Linked DNA regions of Homo sapiens: regions 1, 2, 3, 4, 5 and 6 are each linked to region 7. The links are contacts of gene promoters, found by promoter capture Hi-C in blood cells and fetal thymus (Javierre and others, 2016). All regions are on one chromosome and are shown on one strand. Each heading gives the region's core, a stretch centred on a gene start or on the middle of the fragment in contact. The rest is flanking DNA. Distances are from core to core; before and after follow the strand shown.

Evidence for each region. Contacts are between HindIII fragments. The CHiCAGO score rates a contact against its expected background, and 5 or more counts as called.
Region 1: a contact is called between a fragment that was not itself captured here and the fragment with the promoter of RLIM in region 7, in 1 of 17 cell types (monocytes). The highest score is 10.1, in monocytes.
Region 2: a contact is called between the fragment with the promoter of EDA here and the fragment with the promoter of RLIM in region 7, in 1 of 17 cell types (M1 macrophages). The highest score is 5.5, in M1 macrophages.
Region 3: a fragment that was not itself captured here is called in contact with the fragment with the promoter of RLIM in region 7 in 1 of 17 cell types (total CD4 T cells); the score reaches 5.3 in total CD4 T cells.
Region 4: a fragment that was not itself captured here is called in contact with the fragment with the promoter of RLIM in region 7 in 3 of 17 cell types (fetal thymus, monocytes and total CD4 T cells); the score reaches 13.4 in fetal thymus.
Region 5: a contact is called between a fragment that was not itself captured here and the fragment with the promoter of RLIM in region 7, in 1 of 17 cell types (neutrophils). The highest score is 7.4, in neutrophils.
Region 6: the fragment with the promoter of ATRX here is called in contact with the fragment with the promoter of RLIM in region 7 in 1 of 17 cell types (neutrophils); the score reaches 6.5 in neutrophils.

Annotation. Positions count from the first base shown.
Region 1 is chrX:77,913,800-77,916,499 of GRCh38, forward strand. All of the region lies in intron 1 of ATP7A (ATPase copper transporting alpha), which reads left to right. Among named protein-coding and RNA genes, the nearest start is that of ATP7A, 4.5 kb to the left of the region's middle. The HindIII fragment of the contact is 5,339 bases long and covers 1-2,700 here.
Region 2 is chrX:69,614,779-69,617,478 of GRCh38, forward strand. It overlaps EDA (ectodysplasin A), which reads left to right and starts at 1,335. Exons shown (of 8, transcript NM_001399.5): 1 at 1,335-1,926. The coding sequence starts at 1,531. RefSeq lists a silencer at 1,163-1,282. The HindIII fragment of the contact is 7,678 bases long and covers 1-2,700 here.
Region 3 is chrX:70,130,861-70,133,560 of GRCh38, forward strand. It overlaps IGBP1 (immunoglobulin binding protein 1), which reads left to right and starts at 2,587. Exons shown (of 7, transcript NM_001551.3): 1 at 2,587-2,680. The HindIII fragment of the contact is 408 bases long and covers 1,198-1,605 here.
Region 4 is chrX:77,896,856-77,899,555 of GRCh38, forward strand. It overlaps COX7B (cytochrome c oxidase subunit 7B), which reads left to right and starts at 2,613. Exons shown (of 3, transcript NM_001866.3): 1 at 2,613-2,700. The coding sequence starts at 2,699. RefSeq lists an enhancer at 2,567-2,700. The HindIII fragment of the contact is 1,754 bases long and covers 574-2,327 here.
Region 5 is chrX:78,096,576-78,099,275 of GRCh38, forward strand. No RefSeq gene overlaps it. Among named protein-coding and RNA genes, the nearest start is that of PGK1, 6.3 kb to the right of the region's middle. The HindIII fragment of the contact is 2,360 bases long and covers 169-2,528 here.
Region 6 is chrX:77,784,769-77,787,468 of GRCh38, forward strand. It overlaps ATRX (ATRX chromatin remodeler), which reads right to left and starts at 1,448. Exons shown (of 35, transcript NM_000489.6): 1 at 1,214-1,448. The coding sequence starts at 1,233. RefSeq lists a silencer at 1,062-1,111 and enhancers at 1,212-1,321, 1,332-1,521. The HindIII fragment of the contact is 7,766 bases long and covers 1-2,260 here.
Region 7 is chrX:74,613,190-74,615,889 of GRCh38, forward strand. It overlaps RLIM (ring finger protein, LIM domain interacting), which reads right to left and starts at 1,435. Exons shown (of 4, transcript NM_016120.4): 1 at 1,233-1,435. RefSeq lists an enhancer at 1,040-1,359. The HindIII fragment of the contact is 9,843 bases long and covers 1-2,700 here.

The DNA of each region.
Region 1 (2,700 bases), core at 173-2,672, 3.3 Mb after region 7:
TGTGTACTTTGTACCATATTTTCTGTTCACATTTAAAATTATACAGCTATGTCTCAAGGATGAAAAAAGAGTTTTACTTATTTTTACTATTAATCTCTAGTGTAGAAGTCCAGTTTTTCAGACCTATAATCAGGAGTGCATTTTTAACAATTTACCAGTTGAAATAAATGGGTTATTTCACATTGTAGGGATATTGTTTTAGACTGGCCATTAACCTTATTTTATTTTATTTTTATTTTAAAAGATGTTATTGTTATTATTTATCTATGTATTTATTTCTAGAGGCAGGGCCTCGCTCTGTGGCCCAGGCTAGGGTGCCATGGCACAATCATAGCTCACTGCAGCCTTAATCTCCTGGGCTCAAATGATCCTCTGGCCTCTCAAGTAGCTGGAACCACAGGCGCATGCCACCATGCCTAGCTACTTATTTATTAATTAATTATTATTTTTTAAATAATATTATTTTTAAGAGATGGGGTCTTGCTCTGTCACCCAGGCTGGAGTGCAGTGGCGCCATCATAACTCACTGCAGTCTCGATCTCCCAGGCTCAAGCGATCCTCCTACCTCAGCCTCCTGAGTAGCTGGGACTATAGGTGTGTGCCACCACTCCCAGCTAATTTTTAAACTTTTTGTAGAGACAGCATCGTGCTGTGCAGTGGTGCTATCTCGGCTCACTGCAACCTCCGCCTCCTGGGTTCTAGTGATTCTCTTGCTTCAGTCTCCCAAGTAGCGGGGATTACAGGTGCGCGCCACCACACTTGGTTAGTTTTTGTATTTTTGGTAGAGAAGGGGTTTTGCCATGTTGGTCAGGCTGGTATCGAACTCCTGACTGACCTCAAGTGATCCACCCTCCTCAGCCTCCCAAAGTGCTGGGATTACAGGCATGAGCCACTGTGCCAGGCCTTAAAACACCTAGTGTTAAAAATGGTGTCTTAATTGTATTCTCAGATTCTCCTAGAAAGAAAAGATATACTAAATGTATATTTAGATATACTAAAACACCTAATGTTTATTTTTGTTTATTTATTTTTGAGATGGAGTCTGGCTCTGTCACCTAGGCTGGAGTGAAATGGTCTATGTTTGTTTTTTCATCTTGACAGTAATATCTTTGAACATTTTCTGGAGTATTAGATATTATTCTCTTGATGCTTCAAGGTATCTTAACTTCACCATTGTATTGCGATATATTGTTTTGGAGAGACAGTATAATATAGGATTAAGAGTGGAGGCTAGGTGGGGCACAGTTGCTCACGCCTGTAATCCCAGCACTTTGGGAGGCCGTGGCAGGCGGATTGCTTGAGCCCAGGCGTTCGAGACCAGCCTGGGCAACATAGGGAAACCCTGTCTCTACAAAAAATACAAAAATTAGCTGAGTGTGTTGGCACGTGCCTGTAGTCCCAGCTACTCAGGAGGCTGAGGTGGAAGGATCGCTTGAGCCTGGAAGGTTGAGGCTGCAGTGAGCTGAGATCACACCACTGCACTCCACCCTGGATGAGAGAGTGACAGAGTGAGACCCTGTCTTGTCCGGAAAAAAAAAAAAAGCCTGTCTTGTCTGGCTCAGTCCAGGTGCTAGACTGTCTAGGTGGGATCCCAGCCCCTCTGCTTACTACTTGTATGACCCTGCGCAGATTTCATACTCCTCTGTGCCTCAGTTCCTTCAAATTTCTAAAATGGGGACAATAACAGTACCTGTCTCACAGGATTGTTAATGATCTAATACATGTACGGTGTCTGGCAGATAGTAAACATACAATAAAATGTAGTTACCTTTAATATTTTAATATATTATTTACTGTAAAAGTAATTTTAACATCCTATATAATAAAATTATAAATTACAGTTTTGCTGTACTATAAATTTAGTAGACTACAGGATCAATATACTAATCAATCAATACTTGCAAGCAATATTTAAATTCTTTAAAAAAATTTTTTTTGGAGACAGGGTCTTGCTCCGTAGCCCAGGCTGGAGTTGCAATGGCACGATCTCGGCTCACTGCAACCTCTGCCTCCAGGGTTCAAGCGATTCTCATGCCTCAGCCCCCCGAGTAGATGGGGTTACAGGCGTGTGCCACCACACCCGGCTAATTTATTTATTTTTAGTAGAGATGGGGTTTCGCCATGTTGGCCAGCCTGGTCTCAAACTCCTGGCCTCAGGTGATCTGTCCGCTTCAGCCTCCCAAAGTGCTGGGATTACAGGTTTGAGCTACCGCTCCCGGCCCTGCCACCACGCCCGGCACAATACTTAATTTCTAACTTACACCATAGAAAATTGGCCGGTGCGGTGGCTCACGCCTGTAATCTCAGCACTTTGGGAGGCTGAGGTGGGTAGATTGCTTGAATTCAGGAGTTCCAGACCAGCCTGGGCAACAAGGTGAAACCCCATCTCTACAAAAATTACAAAAAATAGCCAGGTGTGGTGGCATGCGCCTATAGTCCCAGCTACTGGGGAGGCTAAAGTGGGGGAATTGCTTGAGCCTGGGAGGTTGAGGCTGCAATGAGCTGAGATCATGCCACTGCAGTCCAGCCTGGGTGACAGAGTGAGACCCTGTCTCAAAAAAAAAAAAAAAAAGAAAAAAAAAGAGAAAGAAAATGGAAAACTCAGATTGAGAGGGTCCCCCAGTAGCCTATAGTACACCTACATATGCTAACATGGCATCTTAAAGCTCATTATTACAGCTGGCAAATCAAATCACTGTG
Region 2 (2,700 bases), core at 85-2,584, 5.0 Mb before region 7:
CATGATGACACTCAAGATGCCTGCTGCAAGTCAATAAAATTGTTAATTATTCATTACTCAATAACACGGAATGAGAGTGCGTAGTGACTATGAAGCATACATGGTTCCCCTGCTATGGTCATTTCGCTTTCTATAATCTCAGACTAGTAACTCTTGTCAATTGTGACTCTTGATTTAATCCTTTCCATCCTTCATTTCAGGGTCTATTGTTCTGCCTTTTGCCACTTTTTTTTTTTTATCTGAACCCGTTTCTGATTGGTGCAGCTGTTGAAGATGCTGCAGTTGCAGCAGTGTACATCTGGAACATTTGGCTGACTTGTTGAACTTCCCCCAGGGAGTACTCCAGGAGAAGGATGGGAGGGGTGGAGAGGCCAGAACAGTTGCCTGTAAATAAAGATGCCAGTAGTGTCTGGCCATTCTGTGGACCACACTTGTACAAATCCACTTCATTCTGGCCCTCGGTTTCCCTGTCTACTCACTGAAGACATACGTTCTCCAATCAAAACTGCTGCAGTGGAAGAAATCTATTCTGGCTGTGGATGCTCTCATACAGCATTTTTTGCATTGTACAGGGATCGATAGATATTTGTTGAATTAATTAATATATCAAGAAATCCTAGGAGACTGTTTTACCCTTCAAGGGACAACATCATTTCAGTTCCGCTTGGCATGGGGCGGCTTCTCTGTTACTTAGATTGAGCCTTCAGAGTCACTCCAGGAGTGAGGCTGCTTGAGTCCCACCCATTCCCATAGTTCCCAGGCTCCTGGGTCTCCTTTTCTTCGGGCGAGCCATTGAATTGCAAACACAGCAGGCATGGTTTCATTCCAAACCCAGAGCTGTTTTAATTAGTTTAACGTCTGTTAAACGCTTTGAAGATTGGAAGCAACAGATAAGTACTGGATGATGTTATTAACAACTGCAGTTAATTGCAAACATTTCTATTAATGCTAGTTTCTGCCTCCTTTTCTTTGCTCTACTTTCTTTCCAAGGTTCCCAAATTCTTAGCCTCCCCCTCCTTTCCTCCCCGTACTGGCGCTATAGGGTTAAACTGGGGCGGAGCCCAGGGATGAACGACAGCGCCAGTCACCAACTGGTACGGGGCAAGCGGGAAGAGCTGGGTGGGGCGGCCAGGCAGAGGCGAACCCTCACGCCCCCAGGCCCCGCCCCGCGGCTGGAGGCCCGGCTGGAACGGCACGGGGCGGGGCGCCAAGGCTTGGCGGCCCCGTGGTTGGGCGTCCCGGCAGCCGCTTGAGGGATGGGGCGGGGTCGGCCGGGACCTCCTCCTTCATTCCCTCGGCGGGCCGAGCCTCCCCTCTCTCCCGCCCCTCCTCCTCCCTTTCCCACCCCTCGGAGTAGAGCTGCACATGCGGCTGCTCCCTGCTCCGTCCCGCCCAGCCACTGTCGCGCAGGAACGGGTCCCTGCAGCCCCCAGCCGATGGCAGGACAGTAGCCGCCTGTCAGAGGTCGTGAACGGCTGAGGCAGACGCAGCGGCTCCCGGGCCTCAAGAGAGTGGGTGTCTCCGGAGGCCATGGGCTACCCGGAGGTGGAGCGCAGGGAACTCCTGCCTGCAGCAGCGCCGCGGGAGCGAGGGAGCCAGGGCTGCGGGTGTGGCGGGGCCCCTGCCCGGGCGGGCGAAGGGAACAGCTGCCTGCTCTTCCTGGGTTTCTTTGGCCTCTCGCTGGCCCTCCACCTGCTGACGTTGTGCTGCTACCTAGAGTTGCGCTCGGAGTTGCGGCGGGAACGTGGAGCCGAGTCCCGCCTTGGCGGCTCGGGCACCCCTGGCACCTCTGGCACCCTAAGCAGCCTCGGTGGCCTCGACCCTGACAGCCCCATCACCAGTCACCTTGGGCAGCCGTCACCTAAGCAGCAGCCATTGGAACCGGGAGAAGCCGCACTCCACTCTGACTCCCAGGACGGGCACCAGGTGAGTCACCTAGTAGGGGCGGCGGCGGCCCCCTCCCCTCGCGGGTAGGGCGAGGGCCCTCCGCCACAGGGGCCTGGGAGCACTCAGCAACCTCGAGCCAATTTAGAGGGCAGGACCAGGGAGGGACCAGGCGAGCAAGGGAGAAGTTGCCCAGGGCAGGTTGTCTTCGGTCCCTGGCCCAGCTAATCCAGACTCCCTGGGGACCCCTTGACTTGGAAAGTCTCGCGCGCGCCCGCGGCCCCTGGCTGCGGGCTGCCTCGAGAAAAGTTGGCGACGCTCCCGTCGAGGAGGTGCCTGCGCTGCCCCCCGGCCGACTAACGGCTTGGCCCTTCTGCTCGTGATGAGGTTCTCTGCCCGCGGTGCTTGTTTTTTCGTGTCTAGAGCTGATGCCAGAACCAGCAGGCTCCCCTTTGGAGTTGGAGCTGTAAACAGCTGTAATAACTGTTCCACGCCCGCCCGTTGAAACAACTTTTAACCGCATTTTCAGCGCGGGTCCTTGTGCGCTGACCAGAACGTGGGCTTGTTCACACTTACCTGCAATTTGAGACTGATTGTCCTCGGCGTTCTAGTGAGGATCAGCGCCCCTGAGGAATTCTGGTAGAAATATGCCGTCTTGCTAGACAACTTCTGAACAGCAATTTTAAAAATCTATGGAAATAAAACTCACCCTTTGCATGCCGGTTCTGATTCTTAAGCGGGGTAGGTGTGCGGTGGGAAGGGTGGGTGGGAAGCGCTTTTACTACTGTTAGCTTGAGAACGGGAATCTGCCAATGG
Region 3 (2,700 bases), core at 152-2,651, 4.5 Mb before region 7:
ATACTTTCATGATTGTTAAGTGCCCTAAACTAGGATTTTAAAAAGTCTCCCATGCACAACAGGAGTTTAATATGATAAAGTGTTTACACACAAAACACAGCAAACGACTCGTTTTTATTATTCCTTTTTTTCTTTCTTTTTTGTGAGACAGAGTCTCGCTCTGTCGCCCAGGCTGGAGTGCAGTGGTGTGATCTCGGCTCGCTGCAGCCTCTGCCTCCCGGCTCACTGCCTCAGCCTCCGGAGTAGCTGGGGTTACAGGCCCGCGCCACCATGCCCAGCTAATTTTTGTATGTTTAGTAGAGACAGGGTTTCACCATGTTGGCCAGGCTGGTCTTGAACTCCTGACCTCAGGTGAGCTGCCCACCTCGGCCTCCCAAAGTGCTGGGATCACAGGCATGAGCCACCACGCCCGGCCATTATTCCTTTTTTTCTAACCACTTTTTAATCTTGGTATTCTTTCAGAATAAGATGAAATGCAATGCTTAAAATGACAACTCTAATATATAACAGGCACTCTGAAAGTAATTGGCATCTCCCATAAAGACCGTCATTTTGGCTGGGCACACTGAATCACGTCTGTAATCCCAACACTTTGGGACGGTGAAGCGGGTGGATCACTTGACCTCAGGAGTTTGAGATCAGCCTGGGCAACATGGCGAAACCCCGCCTCTACAAAAAAATACAAAAATTAGCCAGGAGTGGTGACTTGCACCTGTAGTCCCAGCTAATTGGGGGGCTTGAGGGTAGAGGATCACTTGAGTCCAGGAGGCGGAGTTTGCAGTGAGCTAAGATCGTGCCAATGCATTCCAGCACTCCAGCCTGGGTGGCAGAGTGAGACCCTGTCTCAAAAAAAAAAAAAAAAAAAGACTAATTTTGAAAGCCATAAAAAATGACTTACAAAGTTTAAGACCAAATTAAGACTGTGCACATTTTTTTCCTCTTAAGTAACAGTAAAGACATGTTTTAATCCAAGCAAATGCAGAGAAGCAAATTATCTTTACTCTCACAATTACTACATTTCTAAGTCTCCTCCACAAGTACTATCTTTTTCTTTATATTCCCTGCCAAGCCTGACCCTGAAAGGTCAGTTTACTAGAGGTGCCAGATAAACCAAATAGGTAATTCGCCAAAGCCTCACTTCCTTCTTAGTTTATAAAGCAGGGGTTGCAAGGGAAGGTTTATTAGAATCACCTGGGAAGCTTTTTCAACCTACATGTGTGCCACAGCCTCCTCTCCCTCTTAGGAAGCACTGTTCTAGTTTGGGGCTTCAATCTGTCCCACATTAAAGGTCTTCATCTTTCTAAATCCTACCCAACTGAAGGTTAATGGAGTAGAAACAATTGAACGCAGAAGTCACTGACTTTGTCACAAACTGGCTGGACAAGTCCCTTAACCTTTCTGGTCTCAAGTTTTTCCTCCGATTTTGGGGGTTCCCTTTAAACTTTGACATTCTTCTATGTGACCGCATGTCATGTCTAAGAAGCCTTCTGAACTACTCCTAGCATGGGATGACTTGCCCTTTCTTGCTTTTCCAACAGCCTGTGCAATACAACATATCACCTATTTTATACTGTCCTATATTGCCCTCTAGTTGTTTTTTAATGAAGCTTTTTTTCTTCTCAACGATATGTAGTTTAAAATACTAGTTTAAAAGTTTATTTTCAGGGGTAGACAGTGTGCCTGCTACTTAAATCTCCTAGGACAATTCAGGCTGCGTCCTAAGGTAATCAGTATGTATTTATATTGCTTTGTTCAAAACAATGACGTCCCTTCTTTGAAGTCCTGAAATTATGTTTTCCATCAGTTCTGTCCAGTAGAAATATAATGGGAGCTACAAATATAGTTTTAAATTATCTGGCAGGCACATTTACAAAGTGAAAAGAAAGAAGTACAATTAATTCTAATAATATATTTAATCCAACATATCCAAAAGACTATCATTTCAACATGTAGTCCATGTAAAAAGTATTTACATTTTTCATTCTTTTTTTTTTAAATGTCTTTGAAATCTGGGGTGTTTTTTACACTTGCAGCACATCTCGATTCAAAATAGCCACTTTCAAGTGCTTAGTAACCACATGTAGCTAGTAACTACCTACTGAACAATGCTGTTCTGCATAAGTTGGCTGCTTTCCAAACTGATCACTTTTTTTTTTTATTCAGATAATGACTGATACTGAGTACTCAGGCTAGCCAGAGTGGTGCAAAGATGAGTCAAATTCATTCTGATAAGAGAGATTTGTAAGTCACTAGCAATTATACAGCGTGGTAGGTGCCATGATAGAGATGCATAGGAGAAACCCAGACTTGGCGGCTGAAGGGCACAGGGTGGAAGGCGGTAGAGAGACAAGGAAGGTTGCACAGAAATAACATTTGATGTAGGAACTAAGTGCACGAAGGGAAGCCGGCTGTGCGGTGACCGGAGTTGCAGGTTGCCAATCTTGCTGAGGGGGGCTCCACCGGACGCCGGCCTACGGGTCGTAGGCGTGTGTGGGGTGAAGGGGGAAGAGGACGGGAGAGGATTGGCTGGGAGGAACCCGGAGCTCCATCTGGTGGGTGGACGGAAACCGCAGGGGGGCGCTACTTGCACTTCGCGCTCAAGCGACCGGATCTTCAAACCGTGGGAGTGGTGCGGCGGCTAGAGTCCCTGGACTCCTCAACCTAGGGAGCTACTCGCGAGGTAAGGGGCGCGCCAGACTG
Region 4 (2,700 bases), core at 201-2,700, 3.3 Mb after region 7:
AAGACCAGCCTGACCAACATGGCAAAACCCCCGTCTCTACTAAAAATTTAAAAATTAGCCCGGTGTGGTGGCGCAGGCCTGTAATCCCAGCTACATGGGAGTCTGAGGCAGAAGAATCGCTTCAACCCTGGAGGCGGAGTTTGCAGTGAGCTGAAATCGTGTTATCACACTCCAGCCTGGGCAACAAGAGCGAAACTCAATCTCAAAAAAAAAAAAAAAGGAAAGAAAAAAGAAAAAATGCAAAATAAAAGTACACTGAGACATACTGTATGATTCAATCTATATATGACATTCTGGAAAAGGCAAACTCATTGGTACAGAGAACAGATTAGTGGCTGCCAGGGGCTAGGGGTAGGGAAAAGGGTTGATCACAAAGAGGTCAAACAAGGGTGTTTTTATGATGCTAGAGCTATTCTGTCCTTAATTGTGGTGGTGGTGACACAATTGTATGCATTTGTCAAAACGCATAGAACTGTACACCAAAAAGTGAATTTTACTATGTGTATGTTTTAAAAATAAAAATTTTAAAGTTTAAAAGGGATATCTTACCTATCATATTGGCAAAAATCCAAAAGCTTGACACTACATGCTATTAGCAAGGCTGTGGGGAGTCAGGCACCCTTTATATTAATACGTTGCTGGTGGGAAGGCAAAACGTTACAACATCTATAATTTGGCAATATCTAAAAAAACTACACATATATTTATCCTTTAATCCAGCAATCCCACTTCTAGTAACCTACCTTGGAGAGAGACATCCAGCAATATGAAAATATGTGTGCACAAAGTTATTCATTTCAGCATTATTGAAATTGAAATATTCTTGAAACTACCTAAATATTCCAACATAGGAGATTGACTGAATATACTATAGCACATATACACCACAGATTTTGCAGCTGTAAAAAAGGAATGAGGAAGACTTATGTAAAATGATAATGGATTTTTATGCTACATTTGTATAAAATAGAGAAATAAGAAAACATACAGGTATTTGCCTATTTTTGCAAAAGGAAACACACAAGATAAACCAGAAAGTAATGAAATCGGTTACCTATAGGAATTGGTGGAAATGGAATGCAACAGTTAGGGGAGGGAATGACACTTCTCTAAGTACACTAGTCTGTTTAGTTTTGACTTTTGGAATAATGTTAATATTTTCAATAGTCAAAATGTATAATCAAAGCATTTAGTTTTACACGATGAAAAAGTCTTAGAGATGAATAATGGTGATAGTTGCACAACAATGTGAATGCCATTAATGCCACTGAACTGTATGTATTTTATTTTTTTTGTTTTGGGACAGGTCTCAGGCTAGAGTGCAGTGGTGCGATCTTGGCTCACTGTAACCTCCGCCTCCCCGGTTCAAGCAAGTCTCATGCCTCAGCCTCCCGAGTAGCTGGGATTAGAAGCATGTGCCACCATGCCCAGCTAATTTTTTGTATATTAGTAGAGACGGGGTTTTGCCGTGTTGCCATTTCTTTTCTTTCTTTTTTTTCTTTTCTTTTCTTTTCTTTTTTTTTTTTGAGACGGAGTCTTGCTCTGTCACCAGGCTGGAGTGCAGTGGTGGTATCTTGGCTCACTGCAACCTCCGACTCCCTGGTTCAAGCGATTCTGCCGCCTCAGTCTACAGAGTAGCTGGGATTACAGGCACATGCCACCACGCCCAGCTAATTGTTGGTATTTTTAGTAGAGATGGGGTTTCACCATGTTGGCCAGGATGGTCTCGATCTCCTGACCTCGTGATCCGCCCACCTCGGCCTCCCAAAGTGCTGGGATTACAGGCGTGAGCCACCGCGCCAGGCCTAACAGCTTTCTTTTCTTTCTTTCTTTTTGAGACGTAGTCTCGCTCTGTCGCCCAGGCTGGAGTCCAGTGGCACGTTCTCGGCTCACTGCAACCTCCGCCTCCCGGGTTCAAGTGATTATTCTGCCTCAGCCTCCTGAGTAGCTGGGATGACAGGCGCGCGCCACCACGCCGGCTAATTTTTGTATTTTTAGTAGAGACGGGGTTTCACCATCTTGGCCAGGCTGGTCTCGAACTCCGACCTCGTGATCCGCCCACCTTGGCCTCTCAAAGTGCTGGGATTACAGGCGTGAGCCACCGCGCCCGGCCAATAGCTTTCCAAAGTTATTTTATCACGTATTTATCTACATATTACAGAAGTTTTTACTGTTCTTGCAACTTTTCTCTAAACTTGACGTTATTTGAAAACTAAAAGCTAAGCCAATTAGTATAGTAGTAATAGCAGACAAAAAAAATGAGAGAAGTAAAGGAAGTTTTGGGGGAACAGAAAGAAGAAAGAGCTAGTGTGGAGATACTAAACCGAAGCTTGTGGAACTTGAACGCCATTTTGAAGCTAGTTCCTTAGACGATTCGGTCGAAGATCTGTCTCTCGGCTGCCCTCTATAGAGCTCTAAACCTGGCTTCAAGGAGTTCTTTCATTCTTCATTAGATACCACCCACCATACGTCATTTTATAAAGCCGGAAACTACATTTCCCAAAAGGCCTTTATTTTTCCTCGCGGGAAAAGGGATTGCAATTACTATAGGTTTTACAGGTATCGCGAGATTTCGTCAAATCTCATTACGGATCCCGGCTGAAAGCCATTTTGTTTTTCAGCTCACTTCAAGGGTACCTGAAGCGAATTGGCACCAAAGCAGCAGCTGTATTGCCGCAGTTCTAGCTTCACCTTCACGAT
Region 5 (2,700 bases), core at 99-2,598, 3.5 Mb after region 7:
GGCTTATCTTGAATTATTGTTCCATGGCACCATTGTGGACCTGACAGGTTACAAATCAATCACATTCAATCTTGCAGTCAGTCCAGAGGGAACTCCGGTCTTGAAGTAATCTTCTGCTGGGGAGAGAATCCTGGAGGTGCCTGTTTCCTGTCAGGATTCAGTCCTTGAAGCTTCTAAGGAAATATATGACCAGGTAAGTGAGCCAGTGTGAACTTAACAAGCATCCAGGTAAATAAATATGCATAAGGCATGGGAGCATAAGGTGGGAAAGGGGAGGAAGTGGAATTTTAAAGCACATCCCCAGGCTGTATTTCAAGGAAAAAGAAAACACTTCTGTAGTTTATGTCAAAGCTATGTCTTGAGACTGGGGGGAAAGAAGAAAAGAAAAAAAAAGTTTTAAAACATGGTTTGAAGCTAAGCTGCTCTATTACACACTGATATAATTTTTGCAAAGCCAGTTTCAATTCCTTCATCTTATGATTAGGCCAGTGTCTGTGCAAACTTGCCTTACTTTAAACTGTTCTTAAAATGTTTATTTTGCCCTCTCTGTTTTCATTTGTGTTAATTCCAGTCTTCGATCATGAGCTATTTGGCTACCCCACTCTCATTGGGGAATTAGGCATGTCCAGGGTTGATCCCTCGAGAAACTGCCTGACAGAAAAAATAAATTTATTTGCAGTGAGAAATATAACTGTCATGGCCAGTAGATACCAGAAAGTTGCAGTTTGCGAGGCTTATTGTGCATTAGATTCACCTGGGGGTACTTAAGAAGTTTTATAACTTCCCTTTAAGTGCATTACATTGTTGTTCCATTTGGAATTTCACAGGACATATGATTTAATAAACCTAGGTGAGGCCGGGAGCGGTGGCTGAGCGGTGGCTCAGCACTTTGGGAGGCTGAGGCGGGTGGATCACGAGGTCAGGAGTTCGAGACCAGCCTGTCCAACATGGTGATACCCTGTCTCTACTAAAAATACAAAAATTAGCTGGGCATGGTGGCAGGTGCCTGTAATCCCAGCTGCTTGGGAGGCTGAGGCAGGAGAATCGTTTGAACCCGGGAGGCGGAGGTTGCAGTGAGCCAAGATCGTGCCATTGCACTCCAGCCTAGGCAACAAGAGCAAAACACCGTCTCAAAACAAAAACAAACAAAACAAATAAATAAACAAAACACTAAACCTAGGTGGCGCTTGGACATCTGTGTGGCAAGCTACATGGAACTAGGCTGTTTTTGTAATGGCTCCTCCATGACCAGGTCTGTACCTTGTCATTTCCCAGACTCTCATGCTTCATCCCCTTCCCTAAACCCCCATTACTGTTACTCTCCCAAGCCTGCCCTCTTCTGATACTATTCATTGCACTATTCCTTTTAGCCTTTATTTCAGCATGAAAACCTAATAACTTATTGTTCACATTTCAGAACTCTAGTTAACTAGTTAATGCATAATAAGGTATTACTGGGTGGTAACTACCTAATATGATAACTCCCCAATTCACTATTTAGCCAGAGCATTCCAACCTTTTACTCAATCATTGCCTTAAAGGGTAACATTTGTATCCTTGGTAGTTCAGTGCAGAAAATCTGAGCAAGGCAGCTACTTAGCCATCATTATGAATTCTCTCTACACATCTAGCTGTCTTTGCACATGTCCCAGAGGCTAAGTGATTCAACAAAAGCTCATTGCATTTTGTGATCTCATTGTTGATGATCTCTGCCATTTTACTATGTGGTCTAAAGTGACTGCACATGAAACCATACTTGATGACAAGAAAAGGGACAGAAAGAAGTCTCATCTACCACCATAGAGAATGCTAAACCCATCAACTTCTGTATGAATTTCTACTGTTGTTTCATGGTATCTGGATTCTCTAGCCAGTTTACAGCCCAAAGACATGCCATTTTTCTTGATTTCCTTTTCTGTAGGTTCACTGGGGGCACAGTGGTATTCAGTGAGTTGTTTAAGTAGCAGCGACTACTGATAGCTTTGGCCTCTCAGAAAATCTTGGGCTTTCCTAATGTAGCTTATGGATGATCTTGTTTGTCTAACCCCGATTTCTTTTTAAGTTACTTATTTTGAATAAGTAATACATTAACATGGTTCAAAAAATAAACTAACAAGATTTACATTTAGAACCCCCATACCTACTCCTGTCCCCATCTAACTTACACTTCCTACTCCCATAAATAACAATGTTATTCATTTCTTATATATCCTTTCAGTGTTTCTTCTTCTTTTTTTTTGTAGAGACAGGGGTCTTGGTATGTTGCCCAGGGTGGTCTCGAACTCCTTGCCTCCAGCGATTATCCGGCTTTGGCCTCCTAAAGGGCTGGGATACAGTCGTGAGCCACTGTGTCCTGCCAGTGTTTCATTATGCAAACACAAGCCAAGAAGCCATATACATACAAATATATATATATATATATTTGTAGAGACAGGAGACAGGGTTTCTCTCTGCCACCCAAACCAGAGTGTAGTGGCGCCATCACAGCTTACTGCAGCCTTGATATGGAATGAGCTCCCTCATTCTTAAGCTTCATATAGTACAGTATTCTATTGTATTCATGTACCATAGTTTAACTAGTCCTTTATTGACAGACACTTGGGATTTTTCCTGTCCTTTGCTATGACAAATGAGAAAATGTACATACAGAAATACATAAAGTCCAGAGATCTATCCTTACATTAGATTCACAGAAATGGA
Region 6 (2,700 bases), core at 198-2,697, 3.2 Mb after region 7:
CGTATCATAGGCTCATTGCCCAATTCTACATTCTAGCTAAATTGCTCTAAAAACATATGCCAATCTAAGAGTTACTCAAAGGCACATTTCGCCAACTTGAAATGCAATTCTGACCCATGCTCCTTGTAATTTTATTTTGCCACTGGACGCCAAGGATGCATCTCCGAGTAAAAAAATTACTTAATTCACATTGTGGGATGAAAATTCAAATGTCAAACTGAAACGCCAGCCAGCCACCTGGGTAAAAGTGTATACATTTCATATTGACTACCCAAATTTTCAGACCCGTCAAGAGGCAAATCAGAAGCACACAGAAAAACAGCTTCAACCTAATAAACGTGCTTGATTGGTTAAGAGGAGGCCTGCCAGGCATTTTCCCTTGCAATAAATCTTACTTCGCATCAGCCCACGTTAACCTGCCCTTCATCCTTCATGGAATAAATAAGTAAATAAAGATAGGGCCTAATTACTCCTCGAAATTTGCCCAGAAAGTGGGGAAACACTTGAGGTCCCATTAAGGCTGGACATCACAAAAAGTAGTATACTAGGGTCCTCTGGAAGCAAAACCCTGTGTTAAGTCCCCCCTCGCCTAGAAATAAACCCAAGGATATCCTTCAGGATATGGAGTAGAAAAGATACCTAAATACCTGGAACTGCACCACAACCCAATCAAAAAAAGGCTTGTCTCCTGGGGCTGCAGAAAAAAAATCCCGCAGGGCCCGGGTGCTTCCCATCTCCAGCAACCTAAACGCCTCTAAGTCGTCCTGGGATCTCACATCCTCGCGCCCGCCCACCCCTCCCCCTCTTCTCACCCTCCCCCCGCTTCTTCCCCACGCAGTTTCTAGGCCCAAAGATTAGCAAAAATGACCGGGATACCAAAGACCGCCTCCGACTTCGAGGTCTCAATCCCACAGGCACCAAAGAATAAACAGAGGAGCCCGACCAAGCGTCACCGTTTAGGGGAGATTGCAAGAAGCGCCCCATACCCTAGGCCGCGCCCCCCCCACCTCCCCCCACCCCATCCCCACCCCCACCCCCGTCGGAGCCTTGCGCCGATACCCCGAAACCCTTCTCACCTAAAGAGAAAACGATGCCTCTTTCGGCTAAGCAACACACAGGCCTAACCCACCAAGCGAACGCCTTCCCAAACACCCGACTCAGACGGTGCCTGGGCCCAGACCGCTGGGGCCCATGAGACGGGGTTGCGTTTTACCTCATGGGCTCAGCGGTCATGTTTTCGCTTGAACGCCTTGTCGGCTTCTGTGATTGCTGGGCGCCGATCTGCGCTCCCCCGCGCCCGGTTACGATAGAAATGCACTGGAGTCTTAGTCGTCACTGTAGCTGCTGCTGGAACCTCCCCACAGCTCAAAGGCCGCTACCACTGCCACCGCCGCAGGAGCCGCGGAAACAAAGCGACACCGCTGCCGCCGCCATTTTGTTGGGCCGAGGCTCAGGCAGGAGAATTGGCGCGTCCTCCCTCTTTCTCTTTCCGTCAGCCATTGGCTACCTCCTCCAAAGCACAGAGTCTTATTGGCTACGGAAATTCACCTTCTTTGGGGGCCTGTTGCTAAGGCGGTCGACGTCATTTGATCCCCTCCACCTTTTCGCAGGGGGTCCAATTTAGTCCCAATTGACCTGAAAGTGCTAGTGACATAGTTTGACTTTATTTTGAAAATGCTCTTTTGGTCCAACCTCTTTTTTCTTTGACATATTAACGAAGTAATAACAGCAACCTACATTTATTGAGAGTTTACTATATGCTCGGCACTACACTAATCCTTTATCCGGGTTATCTCATTTAATCTTTACACTCTCTGAGGTAGACAAACCTACATTTTCCAGATGAGGAAACCAAGACACAAAGTCCCACAGTAGTGGAGCCGAGATTCACCAGACACTCTTAACCACTAATCTGTATGGCCATCCTATGTAAGTATTTTCTTTCCTATATGCTAGGCTATCATCAAGTTATTTGCTTTCCTAGATGTTTTATACATAATATTTGGCACACCAACATGCTTGGAAATGTATATGTGTATAATATACTTATATATATGTATATGTGTGCAGACGACATAAGACCAACTTGAACGCTGCATAAAATTCTTTCCATATTGAATAAAGTGTCTCTTAGAATACACACACACACACACACACACACACACACACACACACACACACGGGCCATTTCCCCAATTTGATGTGATGTTTAGCTCACAAACCAATCAATTTAGATCTGCTTCCTTCTCATTACAGAGGAAGCTTGGCTGGATGATCTGTAAATGCCTTTCCCGCTTTTATGATCTATAATTTGATTTTACATTGGTAATCTCTGCTAATCACAAACAAGTCCTCTAAAATCTAATCGCTTCGAAATTTATTTCCAAATTTATTCTGCCATGCATGCTTTAGTTCATTCTATTTATTTTTCTTGAAATATGCAAGAGCTCCTGTCGGGGTTAGGTGACAGGGTTGCTGCTTTCTACTGGGATAGCAAGAGGGGAGCCTTTTTTGAATGAAACACTTTGAAAATCTGATAGGCTCAGGCAACTTTTTTTTTTTTTTTTTCTGAGACAGGGTCTAGCTCTGTCACCCAGGCTGGAGTGCAGTGGCGTGACGCAGTTCACTGCAGCCTCGACCTCCTAGGCTCAAGCAATCCTCCCACCTCAGCCTCTCAAGCAGCTGGGACTGCAGGCGCGT
Region 7 (2,700 bases), core at 185-2,684:
TTACTCTGTCTATAATCACGAAGAATGAAAGAAATGATTAGTAGCAGTAGGTTTATTATTTCTTCCCCCTTTCAATCAGTCCAAAACACTGCGGTTAATTCTGATTCAGGAAATGCGGGCTCCTTACTTCTGGCAAAAAATCATTGTGGGGTCTTGCAAATGGAAGATGACAATCTGATACAACTGCTTCCTCTTGCCCCAAAATGAAAAAAAAAATGACCTCAATAACAAGACTGCTAGGCCTCAGATTCCCAGACTAACCTGTGGAATAAGTATGGTGAAACTGTCTAGGGAAGGAACGTGGCTGTCTCCTCCATCTTGAAATTAATCAGCATAAGGGAAAAAGGGACCGAGTATTCAGGAAGCAGAAGCCCAACCGGTTAATACTAGTTACTAAGCTATGGCATGCGTGGCAGGTACCGTCTGCAGAAGCAGAGACCCCCCTAGGCTTTTTTTTTTTTTTTTAATGGGGGAGGGATTGAGTTGTTGGTGGATTAAACACAAATTAACTTGAAAATTTGGCCCAATTCCATCCCTTATCCAGGAGAACACAACAAACACCTAACGGCTTTTCCCTCTCTTTTGCGGGGGGATCCTTCCAGTGATACCTGGCAAAGGATATGCCAGGGTTATTCGAGCAAGGGAGTAAACCACATTTGCCTCAGATCCTCAGGGAAGATGTCATCGCGGCCCCAGGGGGCGCCTAATTGGTAATACCCTGCAGAAGGGCTCAAAATGAGGTTTTGGAAATCTAAAGGCCCAAGAGTTGCCAGCATCTCACTTGGGGCAGCCTGATTTTTTACTTCCCTTTTCCCAAACCCAAGCCCGCCATGGAAAACGCGGGGAGGTCAGGGAAGCCTCCAGAGAACAGAGAAGAAAAAGCCTGAGACGTTCTAAGATTCTGACGCCTGAGGCCAAAACTCAAAAACTGCCTCCCCCGATTTCCTAAGGCTCCGGAGGGCCTGGGCTGCAGCTCGCGCGGCCACCGAGAGGAAGTACTACCCACCTCCTTCCCCTTCAAAGAGCCTGTCGACTATACCACTCAACTAAAATGGCAGCGGCGACTACGCCACGGAGCCCCCCGCAGCAACGGGCCTGGGGTCCGGAGGCGGCGCTGAGCCTCTGCCACGACGCGTCACTCGGGCCATTTTGAGAGAACGCGGCAGCCGCGGCTCCGCTGTCTTCCTCTCGCTCTACATCATTTCTCACAGGATTCCCAAGTCTTCACTTACTAGGTTTTAGGGTCAGGATCCGACTCGGTTGGTTCGGCCGCCGCCGCCGAGGCTGCTCCGCACCTCCCTGGCCGCCGCTCTCAAGCCCGCCTCCAATGAGTAGCTGGTTGAGACCCGCCTCTAGCCCAGCGCCTGCTCGGAGACGTTGCTCAGGCAGCCATTATCTTCCCCATTGTTACCAAGCAGCGACAGGAAACGACTGCCCACAACAGGAAGTGATGATGCCGCGTCCCGGCACCGCAGCCCCACTCCCAGCCTATTAGCCAATCCCAGTCGATTCCTCGAAAAGGCTCCGCGGGAGGAGGAGGGGGACGGCAGACGACGCGGCAAGGCGGGCGGCGGTTTGGAAAAGGAAAGCTGTTATGACGCCCACCATGTGACAGGCCCCACCCTCCTCCGCCATTTTGAATTGTGGCGAGAAATTTGCGTTCTGAGAATTGTGGGAACCTTCGCTTTCCCATTTTGAAAACTGAAGGACGTCACGGTCTGACTGCTTGAAGACATTTTCAGAGAGAGAGAAATGTGATATTAGTCTACCCTGACATCACATCAGTTCACACAATCCGTGCAGACCAGTTCAAAAAGTAGCCTGCGTTTTATTCAACATGTATTTACACAGTGCCAACTGCATGTCAAGCACCATTGTAGCTGCTTAGGAAATTAAAATAGACCAAAATTAAGAAAGAAAACAGGCCACGTTCGGTGGCTCACGCCTGTAATCCCAGCACTTTGGGAAGCCGAAGCGGGCGGATCACCTGAGGTCAGGAGTTCGAGACCAGCCTGGCCAACATGGTGAAACCCAGTCTCTACTAAAAATACGAAAATTAGCCGGGCGTGGTGGCGGGCGCCTGTAATCTCTGCTAATCGGGAGGCTGAGGCAGGAGAATAGCTGAACCCAGGAGGCGAAGATTGCAGTGAGCCGGGATCTCGCCACTGCACTCTAGCCTGGGTGACAGAGCAAGGCTGTGTCTCAAAAAAAAAAAAAAAAAAAAAAAGAAAACAGATCAAAATCCCAGTTCTCTTGAGTCTTTATAGGGGCCAGGGACAATAATTTAGAAAAAATCAAACATAAATACATATCATGTTAGTGATAAATGCCAAGGAGAAAAATCAAGGAAGGGGGACAGAAGAGTTCCTTGTAGGGACAAACGGATTCGTGATGTTTAAAAGACTGATAACTTTGAGGCATTAACTCTAAAGTATTCGAAAAAGGGCGGTGATTGTAAAAGGGTGGGAAAATCTGATAACGTTGGGATTTGTAAAAGGGCAGTTAAAGAAGGCCTTTCTTAGGTAGTAATGCCTGAAAGAATTGAGGGAACTCGCCACACAGCATGCCACTCCCATTGTCACAGTTAAAGGAAAACCTTACCCAAGTTTTTAGATTCTTTTCCTTTTCCCAATTTTTCTGTTTTCCAATAGCATGCCAGCTATGCTGGCTTTGTTACGGTTTTTCCAACAAAGCTAACTT